Linked DNA regions of Homo sapiens: regions 1, 2, 4, 5 and 6 are each linked to region 3. Evidence: promoter capture Hi-C in 16 types of primary human blood cells and fetal thymus (Javierre and others, 2016). All regions are on one chromosome and are shown on one strand. Each heading gives the region's core, a stretch centred on a gene start or on the middle of the fragment in contact. The rest is flanking DNA. Distances are from core to core; before and after follow the strand shown. Region 1 overlaps NCK2 (NCK adaptor protein 2). Region 2 has its middle 150 kb from the start of NCK2. Region 3 holds the start of ECRG4 (ECRG4 augurin precursor). Region 4 overlaps NCK2 (NCK adaptor protein 2). Region 5 overlaps NCK2 (NCK adaptor protein 2). Region 6 overlaps NCK2 (NCK adaptor protein 2).

Region 1 (2,890 bases), core at 295-2,794, 200 kb before region 3:
CCCTCCCTCCTGCCCGCTCCCCCCTTCCCTTTCTTCCACCTGCATAATGGCTACAAGAAGTAGCAGGTGGGGATCAGGGTAACTGGCTGTAAACTGCAACCAGGGAAGGCAGCCCTGCCCCGGGTAACTAAAGGCCCTTTAGTTAGGGTTAGCCTGCATAAATACATGTAATGAGAGCAGCAACAGCTTGCAATTTATACAGCACTTTGCAATTTACCAGGCGGCTTAACACTTACAGGCATTTTTTTATATCAGTGGTAAAGACTCTAGAATTATGTCTAGGAAGAATTAGAGGGCTTCAGACTAGTGGGAAGGGGGTCGGTCTTGAGCCTGTGCTTCATACTAAGCATGCTGATTTTACTTAGATCAAAAGACCCAGGTTAGTCGAGTAGTCAAGCAAGATTTTAGTTACATGGTACATAAATTTATGAAAATGTCCAGTTCATATGAAAATATGTAATAGCACCCCAGGCCAGCCTCAGTAGTGTTACTAATCACAGATGAAAAAATGAAGCCTGAGAACACAGCAGTCACAGGTACGAGACCCAGAGGGGACTTCAGATCTAATCTGAATTATTTTTCCTCTACCAAATTGACTATCTGGATTTAGTGGTAGGCCGCTTTGTACGTTTGGGGGGACTCTGTCCCAGAGTCAGAATTATACCAAGTTCTTTGTTTTAGAAATGAGAAACCTCGGGAGTAACTAGCAAGCCTTGAAGGGGTTCAAGGGTGAGGTGATAGTCATGTATTGATATAAATTTACTGATTTTGATGAATGCCCTTATTTGTGGAAATACACATAAAGTATTCGGGTAATGGAACATCGTCTTGGCAGCTTAGTCTCAAATGGCTTGGGGAAAATAATGTTTTTTGCGCCGTTTTTGTAATTTTCCTGTGCACTAAAAGAAGCAGACATATCAGCAGTGGTTTAGAGACTACCCTAGGCCGTAAAGGTAGCTGGGAGTCTGGAGACTTGGGCTCCCCTGCTGTGCCTGGGCAGTGCCCTAAGTTTGGCATAAGCCTTTAAGAGGCCAGAAAGAATCATCGAGTATCTGCTGCAGTTGGACTTAGAACATGAGAATAATACCAGATGTCAACGTGCCCAGCTGATGCTTCACAGAATGGTTCTAACAGTACATGATTCAGAACTTTCTCTAATTATTCATCATATCTATATCCCCAGCATGCAAGTGAAAACCATCTCTGCTTCTTGCTGGGTCACCCCAGGCTGTTTTGAGCTCCTGGGCTCACAGCCTCTGTGATTGCTGGGAAATCGGAAATTCTCATTTCGGCATTATAGGATTGTGGGTCTGTCATCGTGATTATAAATATTCTCACAGGTCTCAACAAGGGCAGAGCTGTTCATCTCTGAAATGAAATGTGGGTAACAAATGCAGCAGCCTGGTTCTCGTGGAAGCCGAGTCTAAGCTTCAGTTGTCCCTTTCTCTATCCCTTGGAAATCCCGTCTGAGCCACTGCATTCTCTGCTGTGAGTGACCTTTGAGAACAGTAACCAAAGGCTTTGAAACAGGGATGCAGACACGATGCAGCAACCCCAACAGTGTAATAGGGTGTGTTCCGATCAGAAGGGGGAGCCTGGTCAGATGTTATTTCATCTGGTCGGGATGTGAAGGAAGGATAAGGCTTAGTCCCTGACTTTCTGAAGCTTGTATTTGTAATATAATCGGGAAAATAATACTGGCACAAGATGGACAGTCCTCATTCAAACAATAGCACTGTCCCTTCCTGTCCAATGGGAAACTAGGGCTGAGTTATGCAGCTCGGGCACCTGTGCTTTCAGAGAGCATGTAGCATTGTGGGCAGGAGGGAGGACTCTGGAGTCTTCGATCACCTGCATTCAAATCCAGGCTTTGCCACCTACTGCTCTTAATCATTGAGTGACTTTGAACAAGCCGCTGAAGCTTCTGAGCCTCAGTTGCGTCGTCTGTATAACGGGATACGTGACTGCTTGTCTCATAAAGTTTTTGAGAACTGAAGGAAGTCATTCATGTGAAGAATACTCTGAGCTGGGTTGAGACTTGGCGAGGGGGGGTGGGGTCTCACTTGAGGGATGCAGAGTGCAAGTGAGGATGTGAAGACGGAAACCCATAGGTGTGGGGAAGGCCATCGGCGAGCCAGCCGGACTGGGGTGAGCAAGAGGGCTGGGGCAGCCTCTGGGGTGGGGCATGCCACACCGTAAAGGCCCTGGGTGTGAAAAAAGAACCCTCGGAGGTTTCCACAGGGCTTAAGGGGGAGATGAGTGCTGGGGTGTCCGGCAGGGGTCCTGATCCTTGTCTTCAGGACACGACTGGAAGGGCCTGAGCCTGGCAGTGGGAGGTGGGGGACGGGGCCTGAGAGTGACCCAGGGTGACATCCCAAGCCCTGAGCTCAGCTGTGGGGATGGAGGACAAAAGAGAAAAGGAAGATTTTGAAGGAAAACCCCTAGGACTCTGTTGACTGGATGGGGAACACCTCGGAGAAGTATTAGAATGACTCAAGAGTTTCCAGCCTGAAGGACCAACAGTGACCCAGAGAGTGGGGGAAGTAAGAGGAGACTGAGCCACGGTGCGTAGTGGAGTTTGAGGTTAGGGTGGGACGTCAGTAGGATGCAGAGAAGGCTGCAGGTGTGAATCTCAGGCTTGGGAGGTACACAGTTATCCTTATGACATACTTCTTTATGTCAGTGAATTTTCATTTTCAGATGTGTAAAGATAATGTAATCCAGGGCCTACCTCGGAGAGCTGGCACTTCTGAGGCAGCTGATTAGGTACCTCAGCCAGGCATTCAATTTCTCTCATGTTAAAGACTGGACCTGGCCTTCTCTTCTTTGTCCCTTTCACACATGAGTTTGGCCCTCCGAACCCACGGGAAAGATCTGTAACCTCTAGCTC
Region 2 (2,976 bases), core at 81-2,580, 170 kb before region 3:
ACCTGCTAATAAGATTGCTGGGTTAAATGGTAGTTCTGTTTTTAGGTCTTTGAGGAATCACCACACTGCTTTTTGCAATGATTGAACTAATTTACATTCCCACTAACAGTGTAAAAGTGTTCCTTTTTCTCTGTGACCTCACCAGCATCTGTTCTTTTTTGACTTTTTAATAGTAGCCATTCTGACTGGTGTGGGATGGTATCTCATTGTGGTTTTGGTTTGCATTTCTCTAATGACCAGTGATGCTGAGCTTTTTTTCATGTTTGTTGGCCACATGTATGTCTTATTTTGAAAAGTGTCTGTTCATGTCTTTTGCCCACTTTTTATTGAGGTGGGTTTTTTTCTTGTAAATTTGTTTAAGTTCCTTATAGATACTGAATATTAGACCTTTGTCAGATGCAGAATTTGCGAAAATGTTCTGCCATTCTGTAGGTTGTCTGTTTACTCTGTGGATAGTTTCTTTTGCTGTGCAGAAGCTCTTTAGTTTATTTAGATCTCATTTGTCAACTTTTGCTTTAGTTGCAATTGCTTTTGGTATCTTTGTCATGAAATCCTTGCCTGTTCCTATGTCCAGAGTGGTATTGCCTAGGTTGTCTTCCAGAGTTTTTATAATTTTGGGTTTCACATGTTAAGTCTTTAATCCATCTTGAGTTGATTTTTGTATATGGTGTAAGGAAGGGATCCAGTTTCAATCTTCTTCACCAGCCAGCCGGTTATCCCAGCAGCATTTATTGAATAAGGAGTCCTTTCCCCATTGCTTGTCATTTGTCAACTTGGTCAAAAATCAGATGGTTGCATGTGTAGTGGCCTTATTCTTTGGCTCTCTATTCTGTTCCTCCATTGGTCTATATGTCTGGTTTTTTTTTTTACCAGTACCATGCTGTTTTGGTTACTGTAGCCCTGTAGTATAGTTTGAAGTCAGGTAGCATGATGCCTCCAGCTTTCTTCTTTTTGCTTAGGATTGCCTTGGCTATTTCAGCTCTTTTTTGGTTCCATATAAATTTTAAAATGTTTTTTTATAGTTCCGTAAATAATGTCAATGGCAGTTTAATAGGAACAACACTGAATCTATAAATTGCTTTGGGCAGTATGGCCATTTTAACAATATTGATTCTTCCTATCCAGGAGCATGAATTTTTTTTCCATTTGTTGGTGTCATTTCTTTAAGCAGTGTTTTGCAGGTCTTCTTGTAGAGCTCTTTCACCTCCCTGGTTAGCTGTATTCCTAGGTATTTTATTCTTTTTGTGGCAATTGTGAATGGGATTCTGTTGCTCATTTGGCTCTTGGCTTGACTGTTGTTGGTGTGTAAGAATGCTAGTGATTTTTGTATGTTGACTTTATAGAAGTTGTTTATAAGCTGAAGGATCTTTGCAGAAGTTGTTTATCAGCTGAAGGAGCTTTTGGGCTGAGACTATGGGTTTTTCTAGATATGGGGTCATGTCATCTGCAAACAGGGATAGTTTGACTTCTCTCTTCCTATTTGGATGCCCTTTATTTCTTTCTCTTGCCTGACTGCTCTGGCCAGAACTTTCAATACTATGTTAAATAGGAGAGAGGGCATCCTTGTCTTGTGCTAGTTTCCAAGGGCAATGCTTCCAGCTTTTGCCCATTCAATATGATATAGGCTGTCGGTTTGTCATAGATCACTTATTTTGAGGTATGTTCCCTCAATACCTCATTTATTGGGAGTTTTTAACATGAAGTTGTGTTAAATTTTATTGAAAGCCTTTTCTGCATCTATTGAGATAATTGTCTTTGGTCTTTAGTTCAGTTTATGTGATGAATCACATTTATTCATTTGCGTATGTTGAACCAACCTTGCATCCCAGGGATAAAGCCTACTTGATCATGGTGGATAAGTTTTTTGATGTGCTGTTGGATTTGGTTTGCCTGTATTTTGTTGAGGATTTTTGTGTCAATATTTATCAAGGATACTGGCCTAAAGTTTGCTTTTTTTGTTGTGTCTCTGCCAGGTTTTGGTATCAGGGTGATGCTGGCCTTATAGATGAGTTAGGAGTCCCTCCTACTCAATTTTTTAGAATGGTTTCAGTAGGAATGGGTACCAGCTCTTCTGTGTATGTCTGGTAGAATTCAGCTGTGAATCCATCTGGTCCTGGGCTTTTTTTGTTAGATAGGCTATTTATTACTGATTCAATTTCAGAGCTCATTATTGGTCTGTTCAGGGATCCAGTTTCTTCCTGTTTCAGTTTTGGAGGGTGTATGTGTCTAGGAATTTTTCCATTTCTTCCAGATTTTCTAGTTTATGTGCATAGAGGTATTAATAATATTCTCTGATGATGATTTGTATTTCTGTGGGGTCAGTGGTAGTATCCCCTTTGTCATTTCTAATTGTGTTTATTTGGATCTTCTCTCTTCTTTATTAGTCTAGTTAGCAGTCTATCTGCTTTATTAATTTTTTTTCAGAAAACCAACTCCTGGATTTGTTCATCTTTTGAATTTTTTTGTGTGTCTTTATCTCCTTCAGTTCAGCTCTGATCTTGGTTATTTCTTGTCTTCTGCTAGCTTTGGGGTTGGTTTGCTCTTGGTTCTCTAGTTCTTTTAGTTGTGATATTAGGTTGTTAAATTAAGATCTTTCTAACTTGATGTGGGCATTTAGTGCTATAAATTTCCCTCACAACACTGTCTTAGCTGTGTCCCAGAGATTCTGGCATGTTGTATCTTTGTTCTTATTAGTTTCAGAGAACTTTGTGATTTCTGCCTTAATTTCATTATCTACCCAAAAGTCATTCAGGAGCAGGTTATTCAATTTCTTTGTAATTATATGGTTTTCAGCAATTTCCTTAGTCTTGATCTCTAATATTATTGTGCTGTGGTCTAAGAAAGCGGTTGTTTTGATTTCAGTTCTTTTGCATTTGCTGAGGAGTATTTTGTGTCCAATTATGGGGCTGATTTTAAAATATGTCTCATGTGCAGATAAGAATGTATATTCTGTTGTTTTGAGGTAGAGAGTTCTGT
Region 3 (2,700 bases), core at 96-2,595:
GCTAATTATATGGAGAGACAGTAAGTGCTTACCACTGGAGGGTATAAAAATACTGGCCGGTGTGGTGGCTCACACCTGTAATCCTAACACTTTGGGAGGCCGATGCGGGTGAATCATTTGAGTTCAGGAGTTCAAGACCAGCCTGGCCAACATGGTAAAATCCCTTCTCTACTAAAAATACAAAATTAGCTGGGCCTCGTGGCACATGCCTTGTAATCCCAGCTACTCAGGAGGCTGAGGCAGGAGAATCGCTTGAACCCCGGAGTTGGAGGTTGCAGTGACTGAGATCCCATCACTGCACTCCAGCCTGGGCAACAAGAGTGAAACTCCGTCTCAGGGAGGGGAAAATAAGTGAGAACCTTGGTGAAGGAAAGAGGTAATCAGCTCAGTTCAGGGCAGATCTGAGATGGGAAGACAGGAAAGGTAATCTCACATCTCCATCCTTTTGTAGCCCAGGCCTGGAGAGAATAATTAGGTGACCCGCTCAGAGTCCGTTGGGATAAAGTTGTTCTAGTTTTTGTTCACTACGCCTCCTTTCACGTGTCCTCTACAGTTGAACAGGCCAGTTACTGGGATGCAGTTCTGCGTTTCCCTTGGGTCTCACCTTAACATCGCTCGCTGAAGTGTGCCCAGATTACAGAGCGGGCAAAGGGAAGCAGTGGTTTTGCTCACAGCTGCAGGGCACCAGGTTCCTGGTTTCTCAAAGGCTTTTCTATTGGAGAAGTTTGGGTGAGACGATTTCCCGGACTGCAGCTCTGAACCCAGACTGTGGAATCTTTCAAACTATCTCAAAAACAGCCCCGCCTAAGGCATCCTTAAGAGCAGCTCTGAACTAAGGAAATTCCAAAGCCCACTTTACAAACCAGGCAGAAGCAAGGCCCCCAAGCAGGGAGGGAGGGAGATAGGGAAGAAAGGGGTGAGGAGTAAGGGGAACAGTGGCGCGGCTGGGGCGGGCGGAGGAAGTGGGGGAGCCAAGGAGACACCCCAGCGCTGGGATCCGGCAAGTCCTCCCTCTGAGTGGCCAGGGGGCCTCGTCCCTTCTCCCGATGCCTTCTGCCCTTCCTTGGGTCTCCGGAACCCAGCTTGTCCTAACCGCTTTCGCTGCGGGCAGCGCTGGCCACGCGGCCCCCGCCGCCGGCGGTTCTCCGTGGCCAAGCATCCTTGGCCTTGGAGCCCAGGGGCTGCGTTCCCCTTGGGGCCGGGGCGGGAGAGAGGACCTCGGTGGTACTCGCCCGTGCGCTGGGCGCAGCCGCTTGGCCCTCAGCCCTCTGGCGCGGCGCCCACCCGCTGGGTCCCGCCCCGGCAGCGACGCAGGGATAACCCGCGGCCGCGCCTGCCCGCTCGCACCCCTCTCCCGCGCCCGGTTCTCCCTCGCAGCACCTCGAAGTGCGCCCCTCGCCCTCCTGCTCGCGCCCCGCCGCCATGGCTGCCTCCCCCGCGCGGCCTGCTGTCCTGGCCCTGACCGGGCTGGCGCTGCTCCTGCTCCTGTGCTGGGGCCCAGGTGAGCGGGGCGATGCCAGGCTGATTGATAGCGGCACCAGGGGTTGGCCCCATGTGGCGCTTCCATGGTGCCCGGGGAGAGCGATCGGTGATGGGGTGGCGGCGTAGGGACCCATCCTTAGCCTAGGCAGGGCCAAGGGGTGGTAGAGGACCGGGTCTGGGGTTTTGCACTCGCACAAGTGCGAAGTGGTGCCCTTGTGAGGGTGGAGAGAGTACCGGGGTCAAGGGGAGGGTCTCAGATCTCCCGGGCAACCTTGGGCAAGGAGGGCCAGGCGTCCGAAGGGTGGGCAAGTAGTGTTTCGTGGCTTAACGTAAGGGGCAAAAGGGTTGTGGGGGCTTTACGCAGCTGGTAACCCAGAGGAGGCAAATGGCACCATCACCGCCATTCCCTTCCAGGCAGTCGCTTAGCAACCAAGTTGACTTGCGCTTCCCAGCTGGGTCAAGTTGCAATTTGCAAAGCTGGGCACAGGCCTCACACCCCAGAGAGGGGAAAGGCTCTTAAAGGAGTAATGCTTAATCTTTCCTGCTTCGTGGAGCTCCCAGCGAATCGGTTGAAAACTCTGAAATTCTCTGCTCGCTCTCTGTAAAACGTGCATTCACACGCACACCCAGAATGATGGGTGCTCCGATATCTGATCGCTGGGCTCCACAGGCCCCACTTTAGGAACCATAATCTGAAGCCGTGGTTTGTCCTGAGTTACCACCTTCACTGGGTAGGAGGAACATTTATGGTTCACAAGTGGCCTCAAGGACACATGACTGCCTTTGAAGCTTACAACTAGGGGAGGCAGGGATTGTTACCTCAGAGTTACTGGTGTATGAAGTGACTTGCCCAAGAGCCTGAGACTGGCGCTGTCCCACTGCAAAGCAGCTGGGCACTGCCTAATGTAAAAGGGAGGCTCACTCGGTTGCTCAGTTTCTGTATTTTGCTCATTCGAAACAGGTATGGAAACTGAACTCGAGGTGAGAAGAGGCAGGGGACATTCAGTAGGAGCCCTGGGATGGAGCCCCGGGGTTGCTAAAACAGCAGGAGGCGTGGTGAGGTCTGTTCAGGTGGGGAGGATTATTGTTCCACCTTAGAATCACAGGCGAAGCTAATCAGTCATTTCCCGTTGTATGGTTTACCTGCCTCCCACTCTTTGTTCTTGCCACTTTAAGAAGCACATCTGGGCCGGCCTTGGTGGTTCATACCTGTAATCC
Region 4 (3,030 bases), core at 159-2,658, 240 kb before region 3:
CGGGTGCCACGTAGACAAGACGGTACATGGAGACCATGAGAGCTGGCTGGCTTACAAAAATATCTACCCATGTAATTTTAAAGGATTACTTTTATTTCATAAGTTTATAAGTTCCACACAAAACCTTGATTCACCTATTAAAATTTACTTTTGTGGTTTAGAAAAATGTTCATTTGGAAAATCGTGAGATGTAGCCATTCATATAATAAACATCTATTGTGAACACCCCACCTGTATTTTGGGCTATTTTTCTTGCAGTGACTGTTGTAGCAGTTAAAAAAAAAATAGATAAAATATAGTCCCAGCCACCTTTCCCCATGCCCTTTCAGGATGGGACCCTGACAGTTTGGGACTGTGCTAACTGCTGTAGTGGAGGTTCTTACAGCCAGTCCCTAATACTTGAGGCAGGGATCAACTGACCCTTTAGGGGACAGTATGGAAAAGCCAGGAGATGTTACGTTGGGAATAAGTTTTAAAGAATGAGGAGACGTGTACAGAGGTATAATGTGTTTCCTTGGAACAGGGCAGGCTGATTGGACCAGCTGGGCCATGGTTCCTGGAGACTGCAGGTCATTCAGACAATACTGGCTTGGGGACCAGGCATTTGCCATTTGGTCGGTGGTCCTTGAAGTGCCAACAGGGAAAGCAACAGCTCGGTCAGCCATACACTTCGGCATGTCAGAAAGAAGTGAAATAAATGCTGGCCTGGTAGAACAGTAAGCGGGATGTCAGCCTTGGATGCATTTCCCAGTTATTGGACACTCAAGGTTTGCGTGCCTGGGGCTGGGCTGAGAGCAGCTTGAGGAGGATGGCGGTGTCTGAGGGCTTGAGTAACGTCTCAGCCCATTTCCACGTGGTGCATTTCCCTACCCTGTTTTCTGGTCTCCCCATTGAAGTTAAGGAACAAAGTCTTGGGACCCTGCGGCTCTGACCCTGCCTTCTTTGGGGGAGCGGAGACCATAGGAAGAGCCAGAAGGCCACCAGAGTTGTCATTTTGGCAAACGCATAATCTGCACTTAATTCTTCCCGTGTGTACTTGAAAAGTGACTGTAATTGATTGTTGGAGGCTGGCCATTACTAGGGACGGAAGATGCAAAGGGCCTTGTCTGCTATGCTGCAGATTCGTTTGACTTTTGAAAAGCTTTTGGAGGCTTTTTCATGACAGACATGTCCTAATGGACAGAAGGATGGTGTAGTGGGATAGGAAGGACAGTGGCTTAGATGACACAACTCAAGTTTGAGTAAACAGGACGGGATTTCACAAACCGAGTCAGTTGGTGATGTGCATGTCCAGCGTGTAAATGTCAGCAGTGAGCCTACACACATCTTTTCCATTTTGTGATAGAAGCAGCAGCAGCTGTGTTTAACTGAGCAGTGAGCATGAGAAGATGAAACATTGAGCCTGTCACTCTTACATCCATAAAAACGCTATCCAGTAATATTTATTTAACTACTAAAGTTTACTACTTCATATTATCCTCAATTTATTTCAGAACAATTTTTCCTAGGGTGTGTACACTTGGAAAAGTCATCTGGAATTTACTACTCACTTTTATCATATCCTGGTTGTTTGGTATTTTGGAGATTGCTGGTAGCTGACTTTGCCCCCAACAGGTTATTTAGAAAGATTTTTTACACGCAAAGCCCAGTGCTCAGTCATTAAGATTTTAGGGCTAAAGCTTCTGTTGAGGGTGTAGCTCTGGAGGTCTCATGATACCTGGAAGTAACTTGTGGAGTTTCCGCCCAAATAAATGGGCCCATCTCAGCCTCCTTCTGCCGCACTCTGGACCCCTGGGTGATCTGGGGGAACAGTCTCTGCAGTTTGGACTGATTGTTTCTTCTGTACAGTGTACCGAATATAAAGAGATGGCCACAGCCTTTAATGCTGCGGATAAATCTGTGGTAATTGGTTAAATAATTGCCCAGTAAGTATTGACAGCTGCTGGGAAAACATTGCCACATTGATTCCACAGTGCCCCGGTGGTGCAGTCAGTGGAAGCAGCTGTAATCTATGGGGTCATCGTTGGCAGGTGCCCGGCACAGGGCTTGTCACTGCTTGTATATTATCTCTAGTCGCAAATGCAGATGTTATTGCCCCCATTTAATAGATGGGGACACAAAGCCTCAGGAGAGGTTAAGGAGACTGTCCACAGCTGTGCATGCTCAACTGTGTGACTCTGGAGAGTCCCCTTAACCTCTCCTGTGGCTTTGTGTCCCCATCTATTAACAGCAGCCCGGGAAGCAGAAGGTCTGTTGCTTACCAGCCCACGTTCCTTCTGCTTCCCGGGCTGCTGTCTCTGACACATGATGGTGGTGACATGGTAACGACCCATTCTCCAAGTGCTTACCTTAAACTGAAATGTGAGGCTCTGGGAGATTAAATGACTTGGCCGGGGCTCCTAGGTGGCAGAGCAGGCTGGGAGCTCCCATTTCCTGACCCAAAAAAGCCTTTCTTTCTTACTGTACCAGGAATTTCGTGAGATTTATTTTTTTCTCCCCTAGAAAAATCTCCTGCAACTAAGTGCAGTTTGGAGAGTTCTTTGGAAACGTAAGGGTGTGTGAAGGAAGACTTTGGGAGGTTTGAGAAGGGGGCACCAGCTGGGAACCTGAATCCCCCGAGGGCCTCTGCTGCTCCTGAAGCACCAGGATCAGCTTAACAGCTCCTGTGGCTTCCAGCTCCACCCATGGAGGCCCAGGATGGTGCTCAGAGTCGCCTTGTGTTGGGGATCCCCAGCTTAACATCAGACCTGCCAAAAGAGAAGTTCTCTGTACAGGCCAGGGGACTTTGTATTTAACAGCCACTTCCTGTGTGCTGAGGCCATCTCTAAGGTCCCTGACGCTTCCCACAGCGCCCCTGTTCAGGGCGAAACATCATAAAATTGTGATTTAACGTTCTTGCATAGTCAATAACATAATTATTTTCTCTTAGTTGTGGTGGTGATCAAGGTTATGCCAAGCATTTTTTCTTTTCTGTCATAGCTGATACACCCTAGCAGTGTGGCTTCCTAGAAAGCTGAAGAAACAAAAACA
Region 5 (2,710 bases), core at 169-2,668, 180 kb before region 3:
TTATACTTTATTTTTCTGAGAGGCGCAGGGATGCTCTAAAAATGGTTATTTCAGAAGGAAACCACCTACTCTTGTTATCTTTTGTGTCACTGGTATTCCCGCATTTTTTGGTTTTAGAGACAGGGCCTCACTCTGTTGCACAGGCTGGAGTGCAGTGGAGCGATCATGGCTCACTGCAGTCTCAACTCTGGCTCAAGCCATCCTCCCACCTCAGCCTCTCCAGTAGCTGGGGCCACAGATGTGCACCACAGGTGGCTAATTTTTTTTTTTTTTTTTTTTTTTTTTTTTTTTGCAGACACGGTCTCGCTATGTTGCTTAGGCTGGTCTCAGACTCCTGGCCTCAAGCAATCTTCCCGCCTGGGCCTCTCAAAGGCTGGGATTCCAGGCGTGAGCCACTGTGCTGGCCCTGTGACATGTTTTTATGGATAAAATAGATCAATTTAATTCTCAACTTTAAGTAACTTCGCAACTACAGGAGGCAGCTGCCAGCAACCGTATTTTTCTCATGGTAATTACAGTTTGTAAGCACTGTCCATGTGTCGTCCCCTTGTATTTAACCGCCAGAGAAACTGCGTGGAAATCCCGGTAGGCTAGGGAGTGTGGTGGTGCCCAAGTGCCCTGCGCCACTGAGCCTTGCTGTGTCTCCACAGGCCTCGGCAAGACGCGCAGGAAGACCAGCGCGCGGGATGCGTCCCCCACGCCCAGCACGGACGCCGAGTACCCCGCCAATGGCAGCGGCGCCGACCGCATCTACGACCTCAACATCCCGGCCTTCGTCAAGTTCGCCTATGTGGCCGAGCGGGAGGATGAGTTGTCCCTGGTGAAGGGGTCGCGCGTCACCGTCATGGAGAAGTGCAGCGACGGTTGGTGGCGGGGCAGCTACAACGGGCAGATCGGCTGGTTCCCCTCCAACTACGTCTTGGAGGAGGTGGACGAGGCGGCTGCGGAGTCCCCAAGCTTCCTGAGCCTGCGCAAGGGCGCCTCGCTGAGCAATGGCCAGGGCTCCCGCGTGCTGCATGTGGTCCAGACGCTGTACCCCTTCAGCTCAGTCACCGAGGAGGAGCTCAACTTCGAGAAGGGGGAGACCATGGAGGTGATTGAGAAGCCGGAGAACGACCCCGAGTGGTGGAAATGCAAAAATGCCCGGGGCCAGGTGGGCCTCGTCCCCAAAAACTACGTGGTGGTCCTCAGTGACGGGCCTGCCCTGCACCCTGCGCACGCCCCACAGATAAGCTACACCGGGCCCTCGTCCAGCGGGCGCTTCGCGGGCAGAGAGTGGTACTACGGGAACGTGACGCGGCACCAGGCCGAGTGCGCCCTCAACGAGCGGGGCGTGGAGGGCGACTTCCTCATTAGGGACAGCGAGTCCTCGGTAAGTGCGCTGCGCCCACAGCTCCGGCTGCAGGCAGTAAATGCGCCTTGCGCGGTGGGTCTGTGTGCCGCGCCCTTTTCACATTGTGTGAGTACACTAGAAAGAGCGGGAGACGCAGATGAATGCAATTTAGTATAATGTTTGCTACTCCGTGATTTACTTGCATCTGTTTTGGGGATAGTGGGTGTCCATTTCTGGAGGTGGGAGATTAACTAAAAAGATGTTTTTAGCTCACAGAGGTGGTTCTGCTTCTCTCCCAAGATTCCCCCTCTTGTATTTCACAGGCTCAAACATCATTTTCTCTCCTGGTTGCCCATTCTGTGTACGTAGAAGGCCCGAGTGATTTACTTTGTTTCTATTCGGTCTGTGTCCCAGAGAAAGCATTCTTTGCAAGACTGGTGGCTGGTTTCTGACACCTCCTTTTGTTGTTTGCTTGCTTTCTCTTTGTAAACCATATAATCCCAAGGTCATTGCCACGGCAGGCAGCGCCACTGAGTTCATCTCTCAAAAGCTTTTAAAGCACTTACGAGATAAATTGAAAAGAAAACAGGGGTTCTTGGGAGAGATGAGTTTTGTTTGTGTGCAGTGAGTCGGAGATATGAGGCCACTCGACTGGGGCAGCAGACCCAGTTCAGCGGTGGGCAGGCTGGGGGCGGTGAGTTTCAGGCATGGGGTCAAGCCTGCATCCCAGAAGGCAGGCTTTTCGTGTGTGAAGGAAATACTCGACCAGTTTTGCAAACGTCTTTCCGAATACACCTTCTACAATCGAGAGACTTCCAAAACAAGCATTTAGGAGATAGAGTTTAATGTATTTGAATTGTATTGGTTCTAGGAGGCTTCAATTTCATTTTTAAATGCACGCTATAAGACTAGTAAGTATGTACTACCTGCTGCCACTGCTGTCCTCTGAAAAGATTACTGGCACAATGAATAAGTGCTCATTCAAGGGTCCTGTTGACTGATCAGAGAGGCATTCAAAGCCCTCCAGAGAGAGGCGACTGGGATGTGCTCTCTTTGAGGACGGAGCATCGTGGTGGTGGAAACTGGACTCCTTTATGGTGTCATCAATTTTGCGGAGCCTTACATGTGCTTGGACGGGAATGCCAGGCTGAAAGCTAACTTCATCTGAAATCTGAACTCTGAGATTTATCAAGTCACCAGAGTTTATCATTCCTGGCAAGACATCACATTGAATTGTTCTCACATGACGAGAGCTCTGTGCACCACTTCTTTTAGATCGTGTTTGAAGCCTTAAGCAAATTAAGGACAGCAGCGCTTTTAACTCAATCGAGCAGAAACTTAGAGAAAGCGCTGGAAAACCAATTACAATATTAAGTG
Region 6 (2,700 bases), core at 136-2,635, 220 kb before region 3:
TGCTCAAGTTTTGGATTCGGAGCATTTTGGATTTTGGAGTTTTGAATTAGGGATTCTTAGCCTGTATTTCTGTACTGTGGTCCCATAAGAAAAAAAAAAAAAAAACCTAGCCCTCCCCTCTTTATTTTGTAAAGGATTCATGTGTAAAAAGTGGACTACAGGTACTGCTGGTTACAATCAAGGCAGATATACTGATTCTGGGACTGGGGTAGAAAATATGCAAGAAAAGCCCAGAGCATCTTGTGGTGCCAGAAAGTAAGGATGTGCTCAAAGAAACAAACGAACGAACACTCGCAGTGATGGTGATACGTCACAGGGACACAGTAGCCAGCTGAAAACGCTCCCATACACAAAGCTGGAACAATTCAAGAAAAAGCAATATTGGATGGTAGCCCAGAGTATAAAATAGCCGTAAGATCACAGTGATATAAATGATGGAATACGTTAATTAGTAGGGGAAGAGAAATCTCCTGTGCAAAAGGTTTCCAGATAATTCATGTAGATGCTTTGCCCTCAAGGAGATGGAAGAGTTAACTCCCCACCCTTAAGCGTGGGCTGTTCCTGGAGACTTCCTTCCAAAGAGCATAGCATGGAAGGGGGCAAGTGTAACTTCAGTGGAGAATCCTGACAAACACCGCCTCAGCCAGGTGATCAAGGTCAACATCAGCAGTCTGCAGTCCTAAGCCATGTTGACCTTTGATATGGTAAGATGAGAATAGCATGTTGCCTCTGTGGTCTTCCTCCCAAAAGCTAATACTGGAGCACTGATCAGGTATTTTGCAGAAGGTCCCCCACTTAGGATTTGTCTGATGTTTTTCTCATGACATCAGACAAATCCTAACGGGTGGGGGGACATTCTTTAAATACCTGACCAATGCTCTTCAAAAAAAAGGGAAGTCTGAGAACTGCCACAGTCAAGAGGCGCCTAAGCAGACGTGACAACTAAATGTAGTGTGGGATCCTGGGTGGGATCTTGGGACAAGAAAAGGACATTAAGGGAAAGCTAAGGACATCTGAATAAACCATGAACTTTAGTTAATGTATGGGTAGTGGTTCATTAATTGTAACATGCTTATCATACTAATGTAATATGTTAATAATAAAGGAACCTATTTTAGTCTAAAAAATATTTTTGGGCCAGGCATGGTGGCTCACGCCTGTAATCTCAGCACTTTGGGAGGCTGAGGCGGGCGGATTATGAAGTCGAGTTGGAGACCAGCCTGGCCAACATGATGAAACCCCCATCTCTACTAAAAGTAGAAAAAAACAAAAAAAAAAAAAAACAGCTGGGCATGGAGGCTCTTACCTGTAATTGCAGCTACTCGGGAGGGTGAGGCAGAATTGCTCGAACCCAGGAGGAGGAGGTTGCAGTGAGCTGAGATCGCGCCACTGCACTCCAGCCTGAGCAACAGAGTAAGACTCTGTCTTGGGGCGGGGGGGGATATATATATATATATATATATGTATGTATGTATATATGTATATAAAAGAATATATAAATATATATACATAAAAATAGATATATATATTTTGAAATATCAAGCACAGATGCTAGAAACCTTTATTTCCTCATTCTGTTTTCTTAAATGATAGGGATGGTTTCTTTAACAGAATTCTACATTTGGAATAAATATTAGCATTTATTGTTCCAAACTCATTTATAGAGGTGTCTATAGTAATTAAACCCAAAGTAACCCATGTCCCCTCTCCTACACAGGGTCCCTGCTGGCAGGTAGGTACAGGTTCTTGTCCCTAGAGCGGGGTGCAGAGGGGCTTTCTATAATCCACTCTCCCACTTCAATAGGAAAATCTAAAGCATAGATACCATGCTTAGGAATGTGGGCATAAACCATATAAATCTGCAGAACTAAAATGATTTTAGTAGCCTAATAATATTTTAACATTATGAGACCTGGGTAGTGTGGAATCTGTTTTTAAAAATCACTGTGCTTCTTGTTTCAACCTTGCATGTTTCAAAATCAGGCAGGGAATCGTGAGTAACAAGGTGGCAAGGAAAAAGGTCAGATATTGATTAATGTAGCTGAATTCATTTGTAAGAACTGAGGAAACTCATGACATTTATATTTTGAATTTTTTTTTTTTTTTTGAGATGAATCTTACTCTGTCACCCAGGTTGGAGTGCAGTGACTGATCTTTACTCACTGCATCCTCCGCCTCTTGAGCTCAAGTGATTCTCCTGCCTCAGCCTCCTGAGTAGCTGAAATTACAGGCATGTACCAGCATGCCCGGCTAATTTTTTGTATTTTTAGTAGAGGTGAGGTTTCAAATGTTGGCCAGGCTGGTCTCGAACTCCTGACCTCAGATGATCCACCCACCTCAGCCTCCCAAAGTGCCAGGATTACAGATGTGAGCCACCACGCCCAGCCGAGGTTTTTTTGAAGTAGATGTTTAAGTTACAAAATTTACAAGTACCTTACAGCTGTGAAAAAAAAATAGGAAGGCCTGATAAACCGCTAAAAATGGTGACTGTTATCCGTCTACTTTGGGAGCAGGGAGTATGCACTACCTGAAAAGACCTCACTTGTGTTTCCTAAGAAGCCAAGTTCCACCAAAGACATCTATGTCCATTTTCATACGTGGGTATTTTCCCATTGTTGGTATTTCCTCTTCACCCCTTCACCATGCTGTCTTCTGGCTTGGCAGAAGGCAGTGTTGATTCCAGTGCAGTTATATGGAATT

Evidence for each region. Contacts are between HindIII fragments. The CHiCAGO score rates a contact against its expected background, and 5 or more counts as called.
Region 1: a contact is called between a fragment that was not itself captured here and the fragment with the promoter of ECRG4 in region 3, in 6 of 17 cell types (total CD8 T cells, non-activated CD4 T cells, naive CD4 T cells and 3 more). The highest score is 12.9, in total CD8 T cells.
Region 2: a contact is called between a fragment that was not itself captured here and the fragment with the promoter of ECRG4 in region 3, in 6 of 17 cell types (naive CD8 T cells, total CD8 T cells, naive CD4 T cells and 3 more). The highest score is 8.4, in naive CD8 T cells.
Region 4: a contact is called between a fragment that was not itself captured here and the fragment with the promoter of ECRG4 in region 3, in 4 of 17 cell types (non-activated CD4 T cells, naive CD4 T cells, total CD8 T cells and 1 more). The highest score is 8.5, in non-activated CD4 T cells.
Region 5: a fragment that was not itself captured here is called in contact with the fragment with the promoter of ECRG4 in region 3 in 1 of 17 cell types (non-activated CD4 T cells); the score reaches 7.2 in non-activated CD4 T cells.
Region 6: a contact is called between a fragment that was not itself captured here and the fragment with the promoter of ECRG4 in region 3, in 6 of 17 cell types (non-activated CD4 T cells, naive CD4 T cells, total CD4 T cells and 3 more). The highest score is 12.1, in non-activated CD4 T cells.

What each region holds. Positions count from the first base shown.
Region 1 is chr2:105,861,927-105,864,816 of GRCh38, forward strand. The region is part of intron 3 of NCK2 (NCK adaptor protein 2); the gene reads left to right. Among named protein-coding and RNA genes, the nearest start is that of NCK2, 120 kb to the left of the region's middle. The HindIII fragment of the contact is 237 bases long and covers 1,427-1,663 here.
Region 2 is chr2:105,897,611-105,900,586 of GRCh38, forward strand. No RefSeq gene overlaps it. Among named protein-coding and RNA genes, the nearest start is that of NCK2, 150 kb to the left of the region's middle. The HindIII fragment of the contact is 4,848 bases long and covers 1-2,976 here.
Region 3 is chr2:106,064,343-106,067,042 of GRCh38, forward strand. ECRG4 (ECRG4 augurin precursor) reads left to right here and starts at 1,346. Exons shown (of 4, transcript NM_032411.3): 1 at 1,346-1,501. The coding sequence starts at 1,423. The HindIII fragment of the contact is 9,592 bases long and covers 1-2,269 here.
Region 4 is chr2:105,819,643-105,822,672 of GRCh38, forward strand. All of the region lies in intron 2 of NCK2 (NCK adaptor protein 2), which reads left to right. Among named protein-coding and RNA genes, the nearest start is that of NCK2, 76 kb to the left of the region's middle. RefSeq lists an enhancer at 2,648-2,697. The HindIII fragment of the contact is 538 bases long and covers 1,140-1,677 here.
Region 5 is chr2:105,880,678-105,883,387 of GRCh38, forward strand. It overlaps NCK2 (NCK adaptor protein 2), which reads left to right. Exons shown (of 5, transcript NM_003581.5): 4 at 651-1,372. Among named protein-coding and RNA genes, the nearest start is that of NCK2, 140 kb to the left of the region's middle. RefSeq lists enhancers at 231-1,011, 1,012-1,790. The HindIII fragment of the contact is 926 bases long and covers 956-1,881 here.
Region 6 is chr2:105,843,307-105,846,006 of GRCh38, forward strand. The region is part of intron 2 of NCK2 (NCK adaptor protein 2); the gene reads left to right. Among named protein-coding and RNA genes, the nearest start is that of NCK2, 100 kb to the left of the region's middle. The HindIII fragment of the contact is 6,296 bases long and covers 1-2,700 here.